Regions from separate parts of the Homo sapiens genome. Here regions 2 and 3 are each linked to region 1. Evidence: promoter capture Hi-C in 16 types of primary human blood cells and fetal thymus (Javierre and others, 2016). All regions are on one chromosome and are shown on one strand. Each heading gives the region's core, a stretch centred on a gene start or on the middle of the fragment in contact. The rest is flanking DNA. Distances are from core to core; before and after follow the strand shown. Region 1 holds the start of KCNJ5 (potassium inwardly rectifying channel subfamily J member 5). Region 2 has its middle 8.4 kb from the start of LINC02098. Region 3 has its middle 42 kb from the start of LINC02098.

Region 1 (4,096 bases), core at 703-3,202:
CTGCTGCTGCTCTTCCAAGAAGCACATACGCTGTGCCCCAGGCCTCCCACTGAAGGCCTTATGCCTCTAGGCAGAATGGTGCCATCTCAGGTGGGGTCCATAGATAGTTTAAAATACCAGCCAAGCTGACCAAACTCTTTATGCCAGAGTCCAACCATGGGCCTCTAACTCCCACATCATTTGCTCTGCCCTGTTCGTTCCTCAGATTCCAGGAAGCCTGAGCGCCTCATTCAGCCAGATGATGCAATTTACACCTGGCTTTGAGGAAAAGCAGGGATGTGGAAAGACAAGAGCAGCTTTCAGAATTAGCTTTTGTTAGTGGAAAGACCCTGGATTTAAAGCCAGAGGACAAGAGTTTTGGAGATAGCAGTGCTGCTGCCACTTAGTGCCTGGAATTCTGTTACCCTTACTCTCATCTATAAAACAGAAGAAATAAGCTCTGCCCCACAGGACTGGTGTCAAGATGAACTCATGTAAACGTATATAGCTCGGCACCTTGGTTTCATAAATATTAGCCTTTTCCTCACATGGAAAAGTGCTTTGAGAACCAGAAAGCCCGATAAACCATATGGCTTTTGATGAAAACGAGGCACATTTTGGAGTCAGATATAGGAGAGAATCTCCCTTTATGAGCTGTGCACCTGAGGCAAATTGCACAGCCTCTCTGGGCTTCAATTTTTCACCTGTAGAATGAGGATGATAATCTCAGCTTATTAAAAGGATTGAAACAGAGTAAAATACTTGGCGTGTTCCTGTTGATCTTCTTCTGGTGTTTGAAAAGGCTCCTGGAACAGGTTTTGGGCTGGTGTTGCTCACCCTGATGTTCAGGGTAGGCCCTAGAACTTTGGGGGCCGGACCTGAGGCCCTCCACAGCCCCTGGGGTTGGAGAGCCCTGTTTGAGGGAAGGCACAGATAAAACCAGGGGGCCAACAGCTCTGCAGGGAGAAGCACTGACTTGAAGAGAAGGGGAGCAATGACAAGGCCGGCCTTCTCTGTTCCCTATCCTCTGTCCTCACAGGCTTGACCCCTGGCCTTTCTGAACCATTTGAAAGCTCTTTAAAAGGAGATAGGGAGGTACGCAGGAAGTGACTTGGGCAGCGAGGGGGGCAGAAATCACAAGGCCGTGTTTCCAGTTTGGCCACACTTAAAAGAGAAAGCAAGATTAGGCTGGGGATCTAAGGCTGAGGGGGGCACCGCCCCCCATCCTGGCCCTCCCTGCTCCCATTTGAAGGAAGAGTCCTACCAGGTGAAAAATGTCCTCCACACCCCACCCACTCCTGGCCACTGTTGCCTCTCAAACCACTGCTGGGAGATCTGGGGCACCCCCAGGTAGCCCTGGTCTAGTGCCAGAAGTGAAGGTGTTTATGGCTGGGCTCCCAACGCACAGGGCAGCCTGCAGCCACGGAGATCTCCAATTTCCTAAACTTGGACCTGCCCTAAGCTTTTCCTTATCCCCCCTGGCTCCCAGTCTAGCAGGTTCCCTGTGAAAGCCTGCTGCCCAGGTGATGGACACCTGAGGGTGTCATCCTGCCCTCCAGAACCCGCGAGCTGGGGGAGAAATGGAGGAGGAAAAGAAGACAACTTACTTGTTGAGATCGGAGCTTCCGAGTCCCACTGATGCTAACTTCTGGGGTGTCCCTTAGCGGCGGTGCAGGGGGGCTCAGGGCTTTTGAGGGGACTCCCCAGCCCCTGCCATGACCCCACGGAGGAGCTGTAGCTGGAACCTCTCCCTGTTGTGGGGTCCTGTGGGCAGAGGTACCTAAGCCATCCTGTCCCTTCACTCGCGGCCCCTTGGGTCACTCCCTTTCTCTAGCGAGAGCAGCTGGAACAATCTCTCTCTCTCTCTCTCTCTCTCTCTCTCTCTCTGTGTGTGTGTGTGTGTGTGTGTGTGTGTGTGTGTGTGTGTGTGTCCCCTCCTCCCTCTCCTCTCTCCCTCCGTCCCTGGTACAAATGAATCTCTGGGTAGTAACGCGACTGGAAGGGCCACCGGCGTTGGCGGCGGGGGGCGGGCTGGGGTGGGGCGGGGGCTCCATGTGATCCGGGACGCCGTCAGCTCGGCAGGACTGGGAGGGAAGAGGAAGGCGGAGAGAGAGCCCGGCAGGCATCCAGCCCTCCGCTCGCGTCCCCGCGGCCCCCTGCGCCCTCCCCCGGCTCCCCCTGCCCCCGGCTGCACCCCTGCTGCGGGGTGCCAGGGACGGAGACCCGCGCGCGCGCGTGTGAGCGTCCCATGCCTGTGTGTGAGCGCCGCGTGTCACGCGTGTCCGTGTGTGAGCGCCGCGTATTTAGTGGGTGCGGTGGAGCAGACAGAAAGAAGGGAGAAACTATTAGGGCAGAAATCTTGGCTCGGAGCCTCGGCGGGGCTGCTCAGTCGCTCCGCGGTGCGCTAAGCGGACGGTTGGCAGCATTTCGCCGTTTCCCGAGAGGGATGGAGCAGATGGGGGGATTCCTTTGGGAAGGCGGGGGAGCCACAGTCTGGGCGCTGCATCCCCCGCCCGACGGCTCTGATTCCCGCCGTGGAGTGAGGGTCCGGGGGCCTGATCCGCCAGCTGCAGGGGGAGTAGGTCCAGGGACAGGACCCAGGCTAGCTGTCCCCGGGCTCGCTGCTCACCCCGGACGATCTCTCCCCGGCGTGCGGCGGCGGCTGGGCGGCGATGGCTGGAAACGCGCCCTGCACGGACAGGAGGCGGGAGCAGCCCGGAGGGAACGGAGCTCAACCTTGCCCAGGCGTGGGCAGAGCCGGCGTCCTCCGCGCCACCTCCCGGCTCTCCCTTTTGGATTCCTACCTGCCTTGAGGACAGATGATGACCAGAGTGTGTTCTTTAATTCGTGGAAGCCGTAGGAAAGGCAGCTGCCAGGGCAGGCTGAAAGGGAGGGCTGCTGTCTGGGGAGGGCCGGCAGGTGCCTCTGAGGACCGGTCTGTTCGGGGTGGCCCTTCTCACCCGGTGGTGTTCCTTCTGGCCCCTCTCCGTTACCCAGCCTTTTGGGGTCAACACCCCCCCTGCCAGCCCCCTCTCTCAGGGCAGACACAGCTGGTCAAACGTGGGGTGCCCTAGCACCTAGCACAAGTGCTAGGTGAATGATGTCTACGACCAGAAAACTGGTTTATTACGTTGCAATGAGAAAAATGCTTGTCACTAATACTGGAGGGCACCAAGTCCATCCTCTCCTGTAAGGACAGTGACAGGGAAACTTAGTCTCTAACAGTGGCCTGGGGGTCCTCTTGCCTCGGAGACCAGCGTACACACAGCCCGTTGCCCAGGCACCCTCCCCTGGGACAGAGCACAGAGCGGTCCGGCCAGAGTGGGCCTCCTGATTGCCCCTCTTCTCTCTGTAGAGGGGGTGATTGTTAAATGTGGCTGCAACAGGCCCTAACAGGAAAGCTCTGTGTCCCCTTAGGGGACTCAGCTTGCCTAGGTGCTCACGCACTGCACCATATGTTGTTTGACCTCAGGGCTTAACACTATTGTGGAGAAAGTTCTTAATTCCCTAATTGCCTAGTTCTTGGGAGAGGCTTTGGCTGTGCAGTTCTCAGGTCCAGATAACACACACTATAATCATCTGCTGAGCCCTGAGGAGGGGCTCTGTCCTGGGGCAGCAGTTGCTTTTGGATTAGGTATAAAGACCATGATATTCCTTTTGCCATTACGGGGTGGGGGTCAGGGGACCTGGACTGACTTTAAAGCAAAATATAGGGTGCTCTGGGAAATACTGTTTTGCAAAGATTTTCTCAGTGATGGGACCTTGGATCGGGAGACAGAAAAATTTGTGTCCAGGTCTCACCTGAGAACTGAAAAACGCGAAATTTGGGGATTCTAGTCCTGAGCAATTGTTGCAACTTGGAGGAGCTTTGAGAGGCCCAAGCCTCTCAAAGAGCACAGACAACATCTGAGGATAGCAATGCAATAAAAGAACTACTCAGGGAGCGGTACAAGGTGCTAAGTATGTCTTTCATTGTCTGAAAATTGCTGAGGCGGTGCTTGAAAGCAACAGAAAATGTGTATGTATTATCACTGTTAATTAGAGTACAGCCTCACTTCTTCTGTTCTCTTTATCTGCTTCTCTTACCTTCTTTCATCGAGCGGGAGATGGGTTCACA
Region 2 (4,096 bases), core at 884-3,383, 690 kb after region 1:
CTGTAATTATGAGAAATGATACTATGCTTTCCTGTCTGGAAAACCTCAGCCTCTTTTTGCTAACTAGTTCATTTTATCCTCCAGATCTAAGCAGTGTGTATGGAGGGGCCAGGTAGTATTTTCCAACTCGTCCAAAACAAGCAAACAACAGGCAAGTAAACAAACACAAAACTCCAACAATGCCAGTTGTCAGATTATTGTTTCTCAACAGTCATCAAATCCACCTTCATTGACAGCTTGTGATGCTGGAGCTGGATCATGTCAATGTTTCTACTTTTCCACTGGAGAGTGTTGCGGGAGTGTCTGTTCTCAGCCTTCTCCATGGCCAGCCGTGTGGGGCACGTTCAAGTTGCCAGACCCAGGCCAATGATTCCCTGCCCACAAGCACCAGCCAGCTGCCAACTCAGGAGATTATTTCCTGCTTGTTGTTTTCTACCCACTACAGTTGGCCTGGCAACTGGCATCACCTCTGGTCTGGAACACCCCAGCAAACTTTCCCCCCATCCCACAGGCTTTGGCCACACCCTCAAAAACAGGCTCTGAAACCCAGCCTCGGAGATGGGATTCTCCTTCCTAGTTTGTTCCTTCCTGGGGAGGGGGTGCTCTACCTCAGCCTTAGAATATTCTTCAGAATTTTCCTTCTTCCTTTCTTAGTAGCTAATCTTCTACTACCAGTTAATACTTTGCTAAAATTCGCAGTGCAAATTGCTATATGATTTCTGTCTTCTGACTGTATCCAAGGTAATATACAAACTAACTAGGTGGGAGGCCTTTGTGCATTGTTCTTCCAGGACATTGAGCATCAATTTGCTTTACATTTGCTTAATTCAGTGGGGCCTTCAAGCTTTATTCCAGGTTGTCCTAACTATATTGTGTAAAGAATGGTGGTTAGGTACTTGCACTAAAGAAGAAACAAAGAAAAATACATTACAAGGAACTTAATTATTATATTATAGGGAATTTAACTATATTAAGTTGCTGAGATTTGGCAATATGTACATTAGCAGGAGCTTGGGGATAGGTGTGTGGTGAGTGAGGGTCAGAACTTTCCGCTGACTCTTACCAGCAGCAGCATGCTATTTTGTACACAGGGCTATCTGCTTTCCATTCATTTAATATAACTACTAGGTAAACTTTATCTCTGCAAGTTTTCATATGAATTGAATTAGGAAAGTAATGTGTCACTTTTCAAAACCTCACAATAGTGGTGACGGGTGCCTGAGACGTTTGATTCATCTTGTGAGATAAAATACAGAACTGTAGCAGTCCCTCTTGGTGCTGTTAGGAGCAAGGCGGAATGAGACCACAGATTTGAAAACAGTTGAAAAACAAGTCCTTTACCTGCTGTGTCTAGTGGTTTCTAACATATCTGGAAAAAATATAAACGCTTTCTGTTTGTTTCTTCATTGCATATTCAAGGTGGTCCCTGAATAGAGACTTTAATGAGATGTTGAAAAAGAAATGCTGAGAGAGTTTGAGAGACCAATGCTATAACGAACACTGCGGCCTTCCGTTCGTCTGTCTTCCAAACCTAACATAACGTTTTCACAAGCTTATTGAACTATCTTGCACTGGTTAGAGCCGTATTCTCACAGAAAACCTTGCCATTGATGACCTTAGTTTGGAATCTTGCCAAGACTTGACACCTATGTTTTTGCTTTTTTAGCAAGACCCTTGTCCATGGATCAACCAACCATGGGCTAGAGAGGAGGCTCTGAGACATATTGTACTTTCAGCCAGTGGATAATTGAGATCACTTGTCTATTTGTGGGGTGAACTGTGGGTTTGTTGGCCAAATATATGCCAGCCACGTGTGAAACAAGATCTCCCTGCCAAACACCAACCACAGGAGGTTGTTGTTAATAATTTCATGAGTAGACAATATGGTGAGATGAGTCCCAGCTCTGCATGCGCCGGATTTCAGGAGCAGCTCTGGACAATGGGAGATGTATTGGAAAGCCTCCCCCTGCCCATAGATGTTGTCATAAACTGTATGCAATGGATCAACAGCAGCTGTGAGGAAGATTGAGTCCCTTGTCAGCTGTTGGCAGGGAGATCTATGTCTACTTTTCAAGCCTTGTGAGCATGACATTGCCCAAAGGCTAAAAGGCAGGTTTTGATCTCACTGAATGTCCCAAGTCCTCCAGTGATTCAGGAGGTGTTGCAGAAATGAGAGTGGCTCAGGCAGGTCTCCTAGGCTTTCCTAAGCATATCGATCCATCCCAACCTTCCACTCTCATGCACTGTTGTTGCTGTGTTTGGCTGATTTCATTTTGATGGAGTCTCGGCTCACTACATGCATTCAAGTGTGCAGCAAAATGGCCTAAATTTTATCTACTTAATTTAAAAGAGAATGATATGAGAATGGGTATTGACAGTGAGAGAGCAAAAAAATCACCCTGCAAAATGTCATCATCCTCACTCCCTTCAACTCACTTTTAAGAGGCAGAGAACACAGAAGTCTTCATTGAGAAATTTCCCCAATGTCCATCATGAGTTTCTCTTCAGTGGGATCATTTGAAACTATGTGGTAGAGACCAGATTCTTGGCACAGATCAGCGTATTTCACATAGAGACCAATTCTTCACCAAATTTTGTCTTCCAGTTTCAAGCAAAATTAGTATGGTTTAGCTGAGTTTTCCTAGCAGCTTGCCTGTCTGTCTACTTCTGTTCTCTTAATGACTAAATAATAGGGCATTCCTTGTTTAAGCTTTGTCATATTATTTTCTGAACACTTATATCCATATCCTGAGCTCCTAGTTGGCACTTAGTAAATGCTCAGCAATGTCTATTGGCCTAGTGAATGTTAATATTGACACTGAGCAATGTAAGGACCTGCCATTCTGCTCTTCCAACTTTCTGATTGTTTGCAATATGTCTTGAACATATCCTAATAAAATGTAAGAAACAAAGGACTTAATACTGCAAAGTGGTTAAGAGCACAGAGGTTTCAGGATCAGGCCTGAGTGTGAATCTCTGGTACGGTCTTGACCATACAACCTCTGGTCAGTTATTTAAAATTTAACTGTCCCCAGTGTCCTTATCTGTAAAATGAGTTTAATATAACAATAGATCATAGAACTTTGTGAAAATTAGATAACATAAAGTGCCTGACATATAATAAACACTGAGTATATATGAGCTATTAGAGTTGTTAACATTTCATCACTCATCAAGTGTGGGATACCATATTCCAGTCATTTTTAGATTGATGTCATGGAAGTCTGCCGTGCCATGTCACCCATGATGCCTGGACATGAGAAAAGATGTGGTATACACTTTCCCCAACAACATTTATTTATTTATTTATTTATTTATTTATTTATTTATTTATTTCTGAGATGGAGTCTTGCTCTGTTGCCCAGGCAGGTGTGCAGTGGCACTATCTCGGCTCACTGCAACCTCCGCCTCCTGGGTTCAAGCAATTCTCCTGTCTCAGCCTCCTGAATAGCTGGGACTACAGGCACGCGCCACCATGCCCAGCTAACTTTTTTTTTTTTTTTTTTTTTGTATTTTTAGTAGAGACGGGGTTTCACCATATTGGTCAGGCTGGTCTCGAACTCCTGACCTCAGGTGATCCACTTGCCTTGGCCTCCCAGAGTGCTGAGATTACAGGCGTGAGCCACTGTGCCTGGCCCCCAATGGCTTTTATTGGTAAGGACCTTTGAACTCTTTAAGGAAAGTACATTATAAAACTGAGGCATTCCCATCATTTGTGGCACCAGCAATAGCAGCAAAAGTCAAAATAACTAACAGGGTTCCCGCCACATTTTAACAACCTTTAGAAGGCAGTATTTCTAGACAGTTGTCACGTCACCAGGTTTTTTTTTTTTGTTTTCAACAGAGTATGGTAATGTACTTAGCTGTAAGGCTCTTATTTTCAAACAATTTGCATCATATTCATCTGTGTTAGAAAAATGGAAATAAAAAAATTTGAGTCAGCTAAAACTGATTGTCTCCTTTCATTGGCTTATGGGATTCCACTCCACACAAACAACTACAATGCCAGCTGGTATTTCAGCTGGAAACATCTGCAGGACCATAAATCCTTTCTTGCATAATTTTTTTTCCTGTTAAATTAAGTCCCCCCTTTCTG
Region 3 (4,096 bases), core at 602-3,101, 640 kb after region 1:
TTTGCTTCTCAGCTTGATCATTTTTGGTGTGCAGAAACGCTACTGAGTTTTGTCAGTTTATTTTGTATCCTGTGAATTCAATACATTCACTTATCAAATCTAAGAGGTGTGTGTGTGTGTGTGTGTGTGTGTGTGTGTGTGTGGAGTCTTTCCAGGGAAGGGCAAGTACAAAAGCTCTGAGGTGGGAACACAGATGGAAGACCAGAGGAACAGCGAGGAGTCAAGAGCAGCTGAAGCGGATGCAAAGGGAAAAGTAGGACAGGAGGCACTGAGCAAGTTTCGGGGCCATTCCTCTGGGGAGGCAGGAAGCATGAGGGATTTGAACAGTAACAGTTTAATATATACAAATAGGGGATTAACAGGAGACTGGAGTGACAAGGGATTGACTAGTACAGGGAAAAGAGAGGCTAAAGAACACAGAAATAGTAGCTCCAGGGAGAAGCTACTGCCTATAGGACTGAGGCAGTGTACCTGTATTAGTTCATTTTCATGTTGCTGATAAAGACATACCCAAGACTGGGCAATTTACAAAAGAAAGAAGTTTAATGGACTTACAGCTCCAAGTGGCTGGGGAGGCCTCACAATCATGGCAGAAGGTGAAAGGCGCATCACACATGGCAGCAGACAAGAGAAGAGAGCTTGTATGGGCAGACTCCTCTTTAAAAAAACCATTGGATCTTGTGAAACTTATTCACTATCATGAGAACAGCATGGTAAAGACCTGCCCCCATGATTCAGTTAATTCCCGCTGGGTACCTTCCACAAGTGGGAATTATGGGAGCTATAATTCAAGATGAGATTTGGGTGGGGACACAGCCAAACAATATCAATACCCAAGGGAGGAACAAACCTGGAGAGGGGCCTTCCTCGTAGGGCTGAGAGCTAGACCTTGTGGATTTGCAGGATTTCTAGTGTTTCTAGATGCTCCTCTGTCTAATACATTTCTATGGTCAATGTAAAAATGCAGTCCTCTACAGCAGGATTTAAATAGCAGGCCCTGACCTGATTTGCCTGCATTCCAAATTGCAGATTCATAGTTTACTCCTTTCATTTCTTAAGCGTCTTGCACAAGATAGTTAAATTCTCTGTACTTCTGTTACCTTATCTATAAATAGGGATAATAATATTAAATCACACAGAATAACTGTTGTGATAATTTATAAATTAATCTCTACAAAGTACTCAGAAGGATGCCTGGTGCCTAATCAGCGTTCATTCAGTGTTACTCTTATGAACATTATTGGACAGATTTCACATAATTTCTATGCCTCACAAAAATGAACAGATTTTTATGGTCATGATGATTAATTAGTTACGATAAATCTTTTGAGAAAAAATACCCTCCCCATTATGTTTCGATGCAGGGACAAGTTCAAGTTAACGCAGAGTTGATTGAAAACAGTCACTCCCTCCTCCAACCAATTAGTGGGAGTGAGTACAAGAGAGTCTTTTAGGATACCCACATGGGAGTATTCCCCTAAATTTTTTGTGGGATGGGCTGCTGGTTTCCAATTGTACCCACTGGGTTAAAAAGAGGGGAAATGGAGTGAGATGTTATGGCTTGGTATCATTGGAGAAAAACTGGGGAATAATATCTATTTTAGAAAGAGGATGACTGCACATTCATGAACCCTGGGTGCAGCCCCTTAGAAGGAGTAAACATTGAACCCAAGTGCATTAGCCCTTCTCCATGCACTCCCAATCAGTGCTGCAAAAATAAACAGTTTATACATTCGACGTAACCCTAGAAGACCCCCCTCACCAATTATTTTATAAGTATTCCTTGGAAGATAAACACATTTCTCTAGCTTTTCTGTCCCCAGCAGGCATTTCTCTGCTATCAGCTATGGAAGTGGGATGGTAGCCCGCTTACCCCGGCACCCCAAAGCCCAGAGCTATTTTGGGAAATAGGGTATCTATATATTTACCACCCACTGGTGAAGTGTTTTATCATCTTAAATTTCCATCTCTATAAAGCTCTCCTACCTCTCCAGCTGACTGAGGTTTTCTGTCCTGGAGTATTTGAGCATGTTCGGTTGTCCATGGAGGGCACTGAGTTGGGGCCTAATGAAGCAGTGTTAGAGGTAATACTGGAACTTCTCTTCTGTTCTGTTCCATGGAAGTGATAAAATATCTACCCTCTGTTGAATACATACTATGAGCCAGAGACTGGTGTCATTTGATTTAATTCATATTACTGTCATGCCTGGTGGGTATTATTAGCCCCTCTTTAAAAAGAGGCAACTGAGTGCAAGATTACAGAGCAGGTCAACGCATGGCATGTCTCTGAAACTCCACCTACCTAATTCCAATGCCGTACTCTTTCTACTGTGACATGTTGATTTCCTATGAGGACAGGTAGCATGCATTTCATAATTCTCATGTGCTGGGAATGGTTCACAGAGATTAATGAGACCAATTGCCAATCATTGCAAGGAGCCAAACAGGTGGCATGGAACAAACAGGGAAGATAAAGTTCATTTTATTAGGCAAATGACTCGAGGTCACATAGTTAGTAAAAGACAGATATGAGGTTTGAACTCAGGTCTCTTTTCCAAAACGCACTTGTCATATTGCTGCTTTGCTCTTTGAGTCAACAATCTTTTAACCCTCTCTGATCTCATTTTCTTCAAACTTACCATGATCAATAGCAGTAGGTCTGAGCACACTACTTTTCCCCCTGTGAGCCTGCCTCATTGGGCAAATTTAATATGGTCTTGTTTCCCAGTATTTTTTCCTTTCATTATATGGGAGGGTTTTTTTTTTAACTTTGCTCCTTCTTAATTAAAAAAAAAAGATTATATGGAAGGTTTTCCTTTGAAGAACTTATTAAGCAACTACTATTTCTTCAAGGACATTTTGTCCTTTGTTATGAGATTCTTTTAAAGTATATGGAGTTTCAAAGTTCTATAGACTTTATGGTGAAGAACTAGATTTATTTTATTAAGTCTTGGGTAAATATGAGTTCTGGGAGAAGGTGCCAAACAGGTGCTAAAACAGGCCCTGGGACTGAAAAAAATATTTTGTTTTTCATCTGTACACCTTTGCACCCTTTACCCTCTGGAACATCTGCAGGTTAAAGTGAGCAGGGTCTAAGAAGGGGATTGAGATTATCAATAAGTGAAATTATATCAGAAATTATATCTGAGTTAGTTGGGAAACTGAGTGAATGAAAATAAAATGACATTTATTTATAGAAACCTGACCTATGAGCTTTTTATTTGAGAGAAAGAGGCTTTCTAGAATCCAACCCAAGTTCCAACCAAAAGCTGAATTAAGGTTGTGGAGAGTCTCCTTAATAAAATATTTAGGCTTCAAATTTAATGCCAACCTAAAATTAGATTAAAACCTTTAGAGACGACACTACATAAAATTCTTTTTGTAGCAGCTTTACATGTAGGGTTTGTTGTGGAAGCAGTAAATCTATCGGGTGATACTTTAAGTACCCAAATCCCTCTTCTCTCAAAACCTACTAACTTTGGGTGAGAATCAAGCCAATTACATCCTCAGATTGATGTAAAATCAAATAAAAAATAGAGAAAGTTGATAATAATATTGGTTCTTGATGTCAACTCAGTGGTAACTATACTTCTCAGTAAATAGGAATCCTATCTTGAACTCTCTTGTAAAAGAGTCTGGGGCTGGAAAGAAAGCTCCTCATCTCCTTCCTCTATGAGTGGCACCTACTACTTTACCACTTATTTCACCTTCTTCACCCCATTTTAGTGCTTGTCTCCCTCACTAGACCATAACTCTAGCATTGCCCAGATGGAGCACATAACTGTTAATGTTGATCAAGCTCTAACCATATGCTAGAGTTTTCTAAAGAATTTTTTCGGGGATTAACTTATTAAAATCTCTTACGACCCCTTTTGGGTAGCTAATGTCATTATATCTATTTCACACATGAGGAAATCACGACCCAGCTAGGTGAAGTAACTTGCCAAGGTCACACAATAATTAAGTGGATTTGAACAAGATTTGAACTTGAAAAACCGGGTGCCAGAGCCCAAATTCTAAACTACCAAGCTACAGTGCCTTAAATTGCTGTTGAATGAATGTCACTAGTATATATGAATCTATTATATATTGATTA

What was found. The method cuts DNA at HindIII sites, captures the fragments that hold promoters and counts their contacts. A CHiCAGO score of 5 or more calls a contact.
Region 2: a fragment that was not itself captured here is called in contact with the fragment with the promoter of KCNJ5 in region 1 in 3 of 17 cell types (neutrophils, naive B cells and total B cells); the score reaches 7.2 in neutrophils.
Region 3: a fragment that was not itself captured here is called in contact with the fragment with the promoter of KCNJ5 in region 1 in 1 of 17 cell types (neutrophils); the score reaches 5.4 in neutrophils.

The regions. Positions count from the first base shown.
Region 1 is chr11:128,889,212-128,893,307 of GRCh38, reverse strand. KCNJ5 (potassium inwardly rectifying channel subfamily J member 5) reads right to left here and starts at 1,952. Exons shown (of 3, transcript NM_000890.5): 1 at 1,587-1,952. The HindIII fragment of the contact is 6,484 bases long and covers 1,444-4,096 here.
Region 2 is chr11:128,198,333-128,202,428 of GRCh38, reverse strand. No RefSeq gene overlaps it. Among named protein-coding and RNA genes, the nearest start is that of LINC02098, 8.4 kb to the left of the region's middle. The HindIII fragment of the contact is 1,158 bases long and covers 1,555-2,712 here.
Region 3 is chr11:128,248,247-128,252,342 of GRCh38, reverse strand. No RefSeq gene overlaps it. Among named protein-coding and RNA genes, the nearest start is that of LINC02098, 42 kb to the right of the region's middle. The HindIII fragment of the contact is 5,676 bases long and covers 1-4,096 here.